Regions from separate parts of the Homo sapiens genome. Here region 2 is linked to region 1. Evidence: promoter capture Hi-C in human tissues and cell types (Jung and others, 2019). All regions are on one chromosome and are shown on one strand. Each heading gives the region's core, a stretch centred on a gene start or on the middle of the fragment in contact. The rest is flanking DNA. Distances are from core to core; before and after follow the strand shown.

Region 1 (5,810 bases), core at 663-3,162:
CCGCCACCCAGCCAAGGAGCAAGCATGATAGGGAGGGAAGTTAGCACACAGCGGAGAGATGAGGGAAAGAGGTCAGGAGCCAAGATGTGACCTTTGGGTGGGGTGGTATTTACCGGGGTGGCACAATTCTGAAGGGGAAATCACCCAGTAGGAAGGACTGTCATGATGGGGGCGTGAGGAAGCCACCTTGTGGGTTAGAACCTGCCGGTGGATGCAGGAGGAGGCCTATTCTGGGGTATACAGTCCACAGTGGGGCAGAGTCCTGATAAAATCCACCACAGTGGATGAAACCCACAGCCCAAGTGCTGAGCAGGAGCAGGGACAGAGGGAAGCTTTACGCCGGAGGTTGGGCCAGGGGCAGACGCACGCTGTGGGACCCAGGAAGGAAAGACAGCAGAGAGAAGGGACCTTTGCACAAGCACCTGCCTGCGTCCTTTCCCCACGACAAGAGCCCCCAGCGAGGCCTGCAGAACATTCCAGATGACCAGTTCCCTCGGTGGGAGGAAAGATAAAGGATGTCCCTAAAAGGCCAAAAATTCCTGGGGCCCAGTGTGTAGCAGCCCAGCAGCTGGGGCTGGGGGGCAGCACAGGAGCGGCCACGAAGGGAGAGGGTGGCAGCGGCTTGGGGCTCCGGATCCAATTACGCGGCTGTTTCCATACTTAGCCGCCTGACAGCCGCCTGGAATACTCAGCACTCAAGCCGCTGCAGCCCTGCAGAGCCCAAATTAACTCAAGGACAGACAAGGGCAGGGCCCAGCAGCACATGCAGTGGCTGGAGCCCCCCACCTTACATCTTGAGTCCCCGAGAAATAGCTTTTGTTCCCACCCACTGCCTGCTCTCCCTGCAGGGACTGTGCCCCTGCAACCCCCTATTCAACCTCAAAGACCTGAGAGGCTGGACTCTGGGCCTCTCCAGTCCCAGGTACGGACCTAGGCTCAGAGCCCAGCTTGGGGGAAGACTGCCGAGTCATGAAAAGACTCGGTGGGCAGTCCGGATCCTAGGGGGATCCCCGGAGCACCTCCCTAAAAGCATTCCCTCGGGGAACCTGGCCTCAGGAACCTTAGGAACAAGAGAGGTGGCAAAACAATCTGGCATCTCCTCCATAGCCTATAGATAACCCCCATGCTGCAACCCAAGCCACCACCTCTGCTACCCAAAGTGCTGAGATGTCAAAGGGAAGCCTCAGCACACAGAGCCAAGCCCCTTTTCTGATGGAAGCCCCCACCCCGAGCAGAGGCTCTACTCCAGAACGGGCCCCGTTCCTCTTCTGAATTGCATCCAATGCTGTTTCCAGCCCAACCGCCAACTCTATTTCCGATCTTATCCCAAACCAATTCCAATTCTATCTCACTGCTCCCAAAACGGTCCCCACCTTTGCCCACTGTATCCCCTTCTGTCCACGCAAACCCAGTTCTCTTACCCGAGTGGGGCCTCCGCCTTATATCCCACCAGGTGGGAGGGTCACCTCAACGACCTCCAGCTCCCAGACTGTGCTATTTTGTCCGTCTCAGAGGCTCCCCCGTCTCGACTTTGAGGGCCCTCTTTCCCACATCTACTGGCCAGACTCCTCTCTGACCCTGGCTCACAGCTCAGCTCTGTTTGCCGTTCCCACTTCCTCTGGCCTTCCTGAGGGCCCCGCAACTGTGCTGCTATTCTCCAGCACCCAGCTCTTTCTCTGAGGCCCCAGGCCCGGGGAAAAGAGAAGGGTAAGAAGACACCAGCCAAGAGCCAGGGTTTGCCATCAGCCCCGACCCCCTACCCAACCCATGGTAGACAGAAAACCTTGGAGGAAGCGTGGGGGACCAGTCTGGGCTGGGTCATGCTGGGAGGGGCCCTACCTGCTTGTCCTGAGAACAGGAGCGAGGCCAGGAGGCAGCCGAGCAGGACCAGCGCCCTCATGGTGACTGCCAAGAGAGCCCAGCTGCTCCTCGCCTCTATTTATACGGCCGGCCGTGGCAGCAGGCGGTGGAGGGGGGAGAGGGGTCACACAGTCACCAGGGCAACTAGGAGGGTGTGATGGGGAAGAAGCCCGGACCCCAGAAGGCTGTGCAGAGGCTCAGGCTGCGCCACTGCTGTCCCAGCTGCCAGGCCCCAGAAGGCAGGGCCGTGGCTGGATTCTCTTCCCCCGAACCCCTGCAGCCCTGGGATCACATGACATGGGTCACAGGGCGTGGGTGACAGGCATAAAATGGAGCATCCCTTGGGCTCAGGCGGTGGAGCTGGGAAGCTGAGTCTTCCCAGAACTTGCAATAACTTGACCTGAAGTCTCGGCAGGTTAAGGACCTTGACACGCCTGCACTGGAAGGAGGAAGTTGTAAGGCCACGCAAAAGAAATCCTATTTAACAGCCACTGATCCACATGCTAGAGAGTGGTCAGCTACGGCAAACCCGCAACATGTGACCTCTGAGGTCCAAGGCTGCAGCCCTGGAACAACCTTCCCAGCCTCTGGAAGAGAGAGAGCACAGACCAGAGGGAGAGGGGCACACTGAGACACAAGCTGAGGCTACGGTGTAAACTGGAGGATGGAGCAACAGATATCCATTTCCAATGGCCCAGGGGTTCCAGAACATTCAGTCACCTCTGCAAAGTGCTTTTTTGTTTATTTGTTTTTGATAGAGGATCTCGCTCTGTCACCCAGGCTGGACTGCAGTGGCACAATCATCACTCACTGCACTCGACCTCCCAGGCTCAATCAATCCTCCCAACTCAGCCTCCCAAGTAGCTAGGACAGTAGTGCCACCATGCTGTACTAATTTTTTAAAATTTTTTGTAGATGGCCCAGAGAGCCAGTTGTAAGAAGCCAAGGGAAAGCAGACACTTGCTTGTCTGGTCGGGGTACAGTGTCACTGTGTGGGGAAGAGGTAGAAGCCAGCCTTGGAGGAAAGGAACTAAATCAGGGCCAGGCACAGTGGCTCACACCTGTAATCCCAGCACTTTGGGAGGCCGAGGCGGGTGGATCACCTGAGGTCAGGAGATTGAGACCAGCCTGGCCAACATGGTGAAACCCCATCTCCACTAAAAATACAAAAATTACTGGGTGTGGTGGCGGGTGCCTATAATCCCAGCTCCTCAGGAGGCTGAGGCAGGAGAATCACTTGATCCCAGGAGGCGAAGGTTGCCATGAGCCAAGATTGCACCACTGACTCTAGCCTGGGCAACAGAGCGAGACTCTGTCTCAAAAAAAAAAAAAAAAAAAAAAAGAATTAGGCATCTGGTAGGCACTTGACTTTTTTTTTTTTTTTAATCTTTTTTAAGAGACAGGGTCTCTGTCACCCTGGCTGGAGTAGTGACACGATCATAGCTCACTGCAGCCTTGAACTCCTGGGCTCAAGCCACCCTCTCACCTCAACCTCCGAGGGGCTGGGAATACAGGTGTGCACCACATCTGGCTAATTTTTTTGTTTTTTGCAAACATGGTCTTCCTATGTCACTCGGGCTGGTCTCCAACTCCTGGGCTCAAGCAATCTTCCTGTCTCGACCTCCCAAAGCACTACGATTACAGGCATGAGCTACTGCTTTTTCAAAGACAAGGTCTTGGGACTTTTCCTCTTGGAAGTCCCCTCTCTCTCACTAAGGAGCTGTTTTTCTTTCTCTTTCTTTTGCCTGTTAAACCTCTGCTCCTAAACTCCTCATGTGTGTCTGTGTCCTAAATTTTCTTGGCGTGAGACAATGAACCCCAGGTATTTACCCCAAACAATGTAGCTGCTTCATGTTGGGGACCTCATCCGGGATCCCAAGGTACAACACTCATCAAAACGAGTCAAGAAAACTTATTGTGAACTATTTATGGCCTTTAATAATTGAATAAGGTATACTCCTGTGAAGAAAATTTGGAGCATGTTTGTTTCTCTCTGCCTGGTTTCTCTGGAATCTGGAAACTATCTCAACATCTGGTGGAGGCAAACCAGTGTTACAACCCATCAGAATGGCTGACAGTAATCAAACTCTAAATGGTGCTGCAGACAGAACCATGCACGGACATGCCTTTTTTCCGAGGACCCTTAGCTCGACCCCAGGAGGAGCCCTTAGCTTCTGTTCCCCACACAACACCCCTTTTAAGTATGAAGTAGCCAGAAAGAGTCATCATCAAACAACCCCGAAGAGCAGTTAGGGTTACCACTCCAGAGTGGGGAATGATACAGGAGTTAAGAGGAAATTACTTAGATAGTGAGGATACAGAAGTCCTCAGTAAGGTTTTCCTTTTACTGAAAAGCAGCCCCAAATCATTTTCCTTTCTAACAAAGAGCAGCGTGTAAAATCGAGCTGCAGACATAGATGCAGGCAGTTGTGCCAATCATGTTCAAAATGGCGGCTCCATCTTCCCTTCTCTGCCAGCCACGTGCACAGTAAGGAGCAGACAAGATGGTGCTGGCCAAGGGGAAAGTTCATTTGCATAATAAGATTAGAGTGGGGAGGTCAGCCTTCCCCACACCCCAGCGCTATGTAAACATCATACCTGACTGAACCAATCTGTGAGCCCTATGTAAATCAGACACCACCTCCTCAAGCCTGACTATAAAATCCAGTGCATCTGCTGCCGGTGGCGTTTTCCTTTCAGAAGTACCCTCTCTCTCACTGGAGAGAGCTGTTTTCCTCTCTCTCTTTCTTTTGCCTATTAACCCTCTGCTCCTAAAAATTAAAAAAATAATAAAAACAAAAAATTTCAAAAAATAAAGATGAGGTCTCACTGTGTTGCCCAGGCTCCTCTGAACTTCCCAGGCTCAAGTGATTCTCCCACCTTGGCCTCCTGAGTAGCCGGGACTACAGGCGTGAGCCACCATGCCCAGCTCTGCTCAGCTCAGCTCAGCCTTCAGACAGAAGCTGCCAGAGCCCTCAGCCTAAAAGACCCCACCCCATTTTCAGAAACCATGCATCCCTAGGCACACCTGCTCCTGACTGTCTCAGACTGACATTCCTCAGATGACTGGGGAGGAAGCATGTTTGAGAACAAGACGTGGGGCAGAAGAAAAACCATGTAGCCCGGCTACTCCTTTCCAATGGTCCCATTTCTGATGCCCTGGAGCCAGCGTCAGCCAGCTGCTTCTATAAGGGGCCAGGCGGTAAACAGTTTAGGTTTTGTTGGCCATCTGCAACTCTTCCACTCTGCCTGTGTAGCTAGAGCAGCTGGCACCACAGAGATGAATGGATGTGGATGCATCCTGATAAAACTTTATTATAAAAAAAAGGCAGCTTGGTTCCAAGCTGTAGTTTGCAAATCTCTGCCCATACTCTAGGGAAATCATTTGGTGAATTACTTTGTAAAGCAGAAAATCCTTTGGTAAAGGACCACCCATATCAGCGCTTTATGAATCTGGGTTTTCCTACGTCTGGCTGCTTCATGTGGGGGTTCAGAGCTAGAAAGGGGAAGGCGGTGCAATATCTCGGGGCCAGGGGATGACGTGTGTGTAACGAGGCTGCTGTGGATTTGAGCCTGGGAGCACATGCTCCGGGGAGAAATACGTGAGGAGTTTCATCATCTTTTTTTTTTTTTTTTTTTTTTTGAGACAGGGCCTCATTCTGTCTCCCAGGCTAGAGTGCAGTGGCACAATCATAGCTCACTGCAGCCTCGACCTCCTGGGCTCAAGCAAACCTCCTACCTCAGCCTCCAAGCAGCTGGGACTACTACACCTGGCCATTTTTTCTTTTTCTTTTTGTAGCAACATAGTCTACCTACGTTGCCCAGGCTGGTCTCAAACAATCCTCCTGCCTTGGCCTCCCAAAGTGCCAGGATTATAGGCGTGAGCCTGACAAGAAGAGTTTCTTGGGGGAAAGAAGTAGGTTTAACCCTGAAAAACTTTCTCCGATCAA
Region 2 (6,367 bases), core at 3,581-6,080, 190 kb before region 1:
AGGAGTCTATGAGTGTATTGATAGGAAGGAGAGAAAGACAGCAGGCAAGCTCCAGCTTGCAGTGGAATGCCAACTAATCAATGCAAAAGAAACAATGCAACTAGAAACATCACCATTTGGCAATGCTCATACTAATTCCCTCAGGCAAGAATCATCCCAGGATGCTAAAACAAATGGGCAAAAAGCTTAATGAGAAACAGGATATTTTCCGAGTCCCCAAAAAATCTCCCCACCAGAAACAGTACTTTTTAACTGATAATTACAAAATACCAACAAATTAATTTTACAGTGGAGAAACCTGGTAGACACCACCTCAACCAAATGATAAGTTAACTTCTCCAGAAATGGGACTGATCAGACCTGTGTGCGTTCCTGTCGTGACAACCCTGCAGGGACTCTCCTGCCAGGAACCTACCACCTGATTCTCATCATGAAGGAATATGAGACCAGCCCAAACCGAGGGACATTCTACAAAGTAACTGGCCTGTTCTCTTAAAAAAATGTCAAGGTCGTGAAAGACAGAGACGAAGGAACAGCCCCAGATTGAAGGAGACTCGAGAGCCATTGACACAGACGGCGCCTGTGGTCCTGGGCGGGCTCCGGGGCCTCTGCATTTGGTGGCATGGTGTGACAGTGCCCACGTCCTGATTTGGGCAGGTCGGTGCAGGCTATCCGGGACAGCGTCCTTGTTTTTAGGAAACCCACACAGGAGAATCTAGAGGCACTCTCTGCAGTCTATTCTCAAATTATTCCGGAAAAAAGGGATGTGTGTATGTGGAGAGACAGACAGACAAACATGTCGGAATGTTAATTCAGGGAATCTGGGTGAAGAGTATTTGGGAATTCTTTATACTGTTTGGGAGCATCTCTGTAAATTTAAACTTACTTCAAAATTAGAATATAACGCCACCAAAACCCCCTCTATCACTCACTCCGCATTCCTAGATAACAACTAGTGTGGAATTCTGTTCTTTGAATCACTAGATATCAACTAGCGTGTAACTCTGTTGTTTGAAGCCACCTGGTTTGAGGTACTTTGGTACAGTAGCCCTAGGAAATAAATATGCTACTCAAAGAATATTGAATGTGGCTTTTTCTACAATACTAAAATCTGACCTACCATGTTAACTTAGTAAGGCAAACTGCTGGGGCGGGGTCCCGTTTCAGCCGAACGCATCTGACAATGCCTTAAGTCACACATTGCATAATCACAAGTTGCTTCTTGACATGAGCGGCTCTTCAAGTGCACGGGGAACAACAGATTCTTTGTCAGGGACTCACAAGAGTCACATGCTGTTATTCTTTTCTCCTTAAGAGACAAACTGATTTTTTAATCACTGAGAGCCTATTACATGCGTGGCATAGTTTTAAGATGTTTTGACATGTCACACGTAAACGATAGTAAACATGTCTTGGAAGAGGGGCTAAGATGTGGGACGAACGTGATTATTCAATGGGCATGCGCTTCCGGCCACGCATCACACGCACATACACCAGCGCGGTTATCCATAACTCTACCATTTCAAGTGAGCCGCAAGAGACTGTAAATCGCAGTGAAGTGGGCCGTCAGGCAATGATTACTAAATAAGCATGGGAAACATCTAAGATTAACAGTGAAGAGAGAAGATGCGTTTGGAATGGAATCCTGGAGACAGTTAAGTTACCAGGTGCTTTCACAGTCGTTTTTTCAAATTCAGTCACTGAGACATAAAATAATATTGATCTTTGAGAAGAGCTCTCGACGGAAACAGCAGTTGGCAGTGTCCCCAGAGCACTTGCCCTTCCTCTGGAGCGCTTCACGTGCGAGCCCGCCGTCTATTTATAACAGTTGGGCACTTGTCGCCACAATGGCTGATTGTGTGGCCCAGCTGTCTGTGTCTATCAAGAAGGGCAGGAGTGGACAGCCTGCACTTTGATGTTTCCCTTTTTTGGAGACTGAAAATAACATTTTTAAAAAACTGCCAACCGGCAAGGTCACAAAATATTTTTGGATGGCACGGGGACCCGATTGCAAAGCTGTGGTTCACATCAGATGCGGAGGCCTGGGACGCAGCCAGTGAGCCCCATTGCACAATATCCTGCTCATGCCAACTTCAAAAGTTATTTGCCTCGGAGAGCTCCCAGACGACTCTTTCTCGGTAATAAAACACAGCATTTTAGAAATTTGCAAGGGTCTTCTGGATAGGGCATTACCCAGAGGAGCAAGGATTTCCCTGGCCACTCTGGTTACAGTTGCAACCAGCAGCCCCAGGCCTCTTGCCACCCTTGCCCCGCCCCACCCCACATCCCTCACCCCCACTCCACAAACTCCTGCCCTTCCCTGATGAGCTCTCAAGCACTTACCAGCGACACGCTACATATTTTTCTAATGCATGTGTCAATTTCTTGACTCGCCCATTCTATTATAGATGGCTCACGAAAGCAGGATTAGCGTCTGTTTTGTTCACTGATGCAACCACAGAGCCGAGAATAGTGCCTGGCTCACAATATTTACTGAGTGCATACTTGTGGAATTAATTAATTTAAATAGCAGAGACAATGGGATCAGGAAACACATGGAAATACCGATGACCAGTATTAGATGTCAGGGTTCTGTCGCCCTTCCCTCCGCCCCCGACGAAGATCCCAGCTTTGTTTACATATTTGTGGTGCACAAAAATAGAAATGGACTAAACAAAATTCCCGATTTTCCCAAACTGTGGTGGATTGCAGAAACCAAGACTTCGCAGGGCTCGGTTCTGAAATGATTTTCACTCAAACCATCTTCCTGAAACTCTTCCTATTACTCTCTGCCCATTTCGCAAACCTTCTTGCTGGAGGTATTAGATACGGGAAGCACCTGTAGTAATCAACAAGTATGGCTCTGATTAAATGGATTTTTTTCTTTTTTTTTTTTTGAGACGGACTCTCGCTCTGTCACCCAGGCTGGAGTGCAGTGGCACAATCTCGGCTCACTGCAAGCTACGCCTCCCGGGTTCAAGCAATTCTCCTGCTTCAGCCTCCCGAGTAGCTGGGACTACAGGTGCCCGCCACCATGCCCGGCTAATTTTGTATTGTTAGTAGAGACGGGTTTCACTGTGTTAGCCAGGATGGTCTAAATCTCCTGACCTCGTGATCCACCTGCCTCGACCTCCCAAAGTGCTGGGATTACAGGTGTGAGCCACTGTGCCCAGCCGAAATGGATATTTTGAAAATCATCAAGTTATACAAAAGAATCCCACATGCTGTACAACACCACTCGAGATTTTAGGGTTTTTGCGGGTTTTACATCAGTAGATCATGAAACCCTGACTCTTTAATTATTATGTAAATGAAATTCAACAACACACTCACACCTCAAAAACTCTGGAAGGTCAGAAAGAGGCAGAGAGCAGGGCCCCCGCGGAAGGGGAGGCACACAAGGCAGACAGAGGCAGAGGAGGTGGGAGTACAGGCCCCAGCACTGTGGTAGCCAACAGCAGAGCCATTCTTCCACACCGGGAAGGGCCCCCAGGCCTCAGGAAGCCAGCTCTATTCAGCAGATTTCACAAGTGAAAAAGCCTTTTTAGATGTCTTTTGGGGTCAGGCGTGGTGGCTTACACCTGTAATCCCAGTACTTTGGGAGGCTGAGGCGAGCAGATCACTTGAGGTCAGGAGTTCAAGACCAACCTGGCCAACATGGTGAAACCCTGTCTCTACTAAACATACAAAAAATTAGCTGGGCATAGTGGCACACACCTATAATCCCAGCTACTCGGGAGGCTGAGACAGGAGAATTGCTTGAACCCAGGAGGTAGAGGTTGCAGTGAGTCAAGATCAGGCCATTGTACTCCAGCCTGGGCAGCAGAGCAAGACTCTGTCTCAAAAAGGAAAAAAAAAAAGGCCAGACGCGGTGGCTCACACCTACAATCCCAGCACTTTGGGAGGCCGGGGTGGGGGGATCACGAGGTCAGGAGATCGAGACCATCCCGGCTAACACGGTGAAACCCCGTCTCTACTAAAAATACAAAAAAATTAGCCAGGCGTGGCGCCGGGCGCCTGTAGTCCCAGCTACTTGGGAGGCTGAGGCAGGAGAACGGCATGAACCCAGAAGGCAGAGCTTGCAGTGAGCCGAGATGGTGCCACTGCACTCCAGCGTGGGCGACAGAGCGAGGATCCGTTTCAAAAAAAAAAAAAGATACCTTTTGGGAACAATTCCCCAGCAGAACAAAGGTGCCACTTCTAAGTATGAGGAATTCCTTATCAAAGATGCCTGAGCCTGCAAGACAGCTCCCACAAGTACAAGCGCTGCAACGACTGGGTGACTGCGCGTCTCTGGCAAGCGGTTTTGAAGCCACTTCCTTAGCTCCCATAGACAGGCAGTGCTGGAAACACACATGCAGGGAGCTCCCAGCCGGTGTTGTGCGATACAGAACCCGAAAGCTGCGCCCTCCCCGCAAGGAGGTTGTCTATAGAAAATTCTGTGACATCAGGATTCTTCAATAATCTCTTCAACATCAGCTCTCAACATATTTATAGAAGATCTCCAGGCCCAGCAGTTTTCCTACCTGTGCAAAATGCTGTGGCTTCAAAGTAATGTTTTGTTGTGTTTTGTTTTGTTTTTGAGACGAGTCTCACTCTGTCATCCAGGCTGGAGTGCAGTGATGCAATCTCAGCTCACTGTAACCTCCGCTCCCGGGCTCCAGGGATTCTCCTGCCTCAGCCTCCCAAGTAGCTGGGACGATAGGCGTGCACCACCACACTTAGGTAATTTTTGTATTTTTAGTAGAGATGGTGTTTCACCATGTTGGCCAGGCTGGTCTGAAAATGCTGACCTCAAGTGATCCACCCACCTCGGCCTCCCAGAGTGCTGGGATTACAGCCGTGAGCCACCACACCCAGCCAAAGTAAATTTAAAAGGGGCTTTCGTCCTCCTAGGAGTCAGAATCAGTCCTCACTGTAAGAAGCAGAATTCTAACCTCAAAACTGGTCTCCTGGGAACACTGGAAAGCAGTGCGTGATCCGAAGGGGCAGAAATGACTGACACTCTCAAATTCCCCTCTGCATCATGGGCACTCAGCACTGTGCCTAGTGCATAGTAAGACTTCAACAAATATGTGCTGTTGTTATAATTCGGCATGACGATGGAGGTGCAGAGGTTTACCTGTGTTTTTATTATCTCTGGTTGACAAGGCGGCCACACCCAGGTTGCCTGTTCTGAAGCTGTCTCAAGACAGTGACCATCACCCAGGCTGAGGTCCAGGATGATGTGAGTGCAAATTGCTAAAGCTCTCCTTCAGGTGCCAGGCCTGCCATGACACATGGCGAGTCCTAGCAGAGGTCAGACCAACAACTCAGTTCTTTCAGGTAACCTGTACTGATGAAACCGCCCCCCCCCCCCCCGCCAATCTTACTCTTCTGTTATTTCATGTCTATGAAGGGTTTTGGCATAAAAAAAACAAAAAGCCTCATTTTAAAAAAATCTACAATTGTTTAGGTTTTTGTTTAAAGAGAAGCGTCTGGTTCTGTTGCCTAGGCTGGAGTGCCGTGGTGCAATCTCGGCTCACTGCAGCCTCCAACCCCTGGCCTCAAGCAATACTCCTGCCTCAGCTTCCTGAGTAGCTGGGACTGTCCATCTTTTTTTTAATAACAGCTTTATTGAGATATAATTCACATACCGTACAATTCATCTGTTTCCAGGGTACAATTCAGTGGTGTCTAGCATATTCACACAGGGCTGTGCAACCATCACCACCATCAACCTAGAACACTTTCATCACCCCAGAAAGAAACTCCGCACCCGGCTGCAGTGACACCATCATCCTGGCTTATTGTCGTTTGTCCGCCGGCCACCGTTCTGTCTCTGTTTCTTTCCCAACACCAGCCTCTCTTTTCACGCACTATCTCCCCGCCAGCCCTGCTCCCTGCATTCTGTAGGAAATGCTTGGCTCCTACAGTGGTTGACGAATACCAAAGCTTCTGTGAGCACGCCAGAGGGCCCCCACAAAGCTCTCTCCTCTGTCTGAAACATTACTCTGAAGGAGTGATTTCTTGTTCATTCTGAATAAGGATGACGACACCAGGAAGCGGAGGCCCGGGGAGCATTTACGGCGTGTTCTCGATGTGTGAGCACTGTGGCCAGCACGTTCCAACCCAGTGCTGCAAGAGTTGCTCCCAGCCCCACTTCAGAGATGAGAAAACCAAGGCCCAGGGAACCCAAGGTCACAAAGGACTCTAAGAAGGAGAGTTGAGTAATCCCAGCACTTTGGGAGGCCAAGGTGGGCAGATCGCTTCAGGTCAAGAGTTCGAGACCAGCCTGGCCAACATAGTGAAACCCCATCTCTACTAAAAATACAAAAATTAGCCAGGCGTGGTGGTGGGCACCTGTAATCCCAGCTACTTGGGAGGT

The links. The method cuts DNA at HindIII sites, captures the fragments that hold promoters and counts their contacts. A contact is called where the count stands out against the background at its distance.
Region 2: a contact is called between a fragment that was not itself captured here and the fragment with the promoter of SRL in region 1, in 10 of the 25 tissues and cell types used here (IMR-90 fibroblasts, heart right ventricle, hippocampus and 7 more).

What each region holds. Positions count from the first base shown.
Region 1 is chr16:4,240,168-4,245,977 of GRCh38, forward strand. It overlaps SRL (sarcalumenin), which reads right to left and starts at 1,913. Exons shown (of 6, transcript NM_001098814.2): 1 at 1,840-1,913. The coding sequence starts at 1,900. It overlaps LINC01569 (long intergenic non-protein coding RNA 1569), which reads right to left. Exons shown (of 3, transcript NR_039999.1): 3 at 5,658-5,810. The HindIII fragment of the contact is 19,223 bases long and covers 1-5,810 here.
Region 2 is chr16:4,051,692-4,058,058 of GRCh38, forward strand. The region is part of intron 2 of ADCY9 (adenylate cyclase 9); the gene reads right to left. LOC124900373 (a long non-coding RNA gene) reads right to left here and starts at 2,929. Exons shown (of 2, transcript XR_007064957.1): 1 at 2,344-2,929; 2 at 1-2,130. The HindIII fragment of the contact is 3,542 bases long and covers 3,060-6,367 here.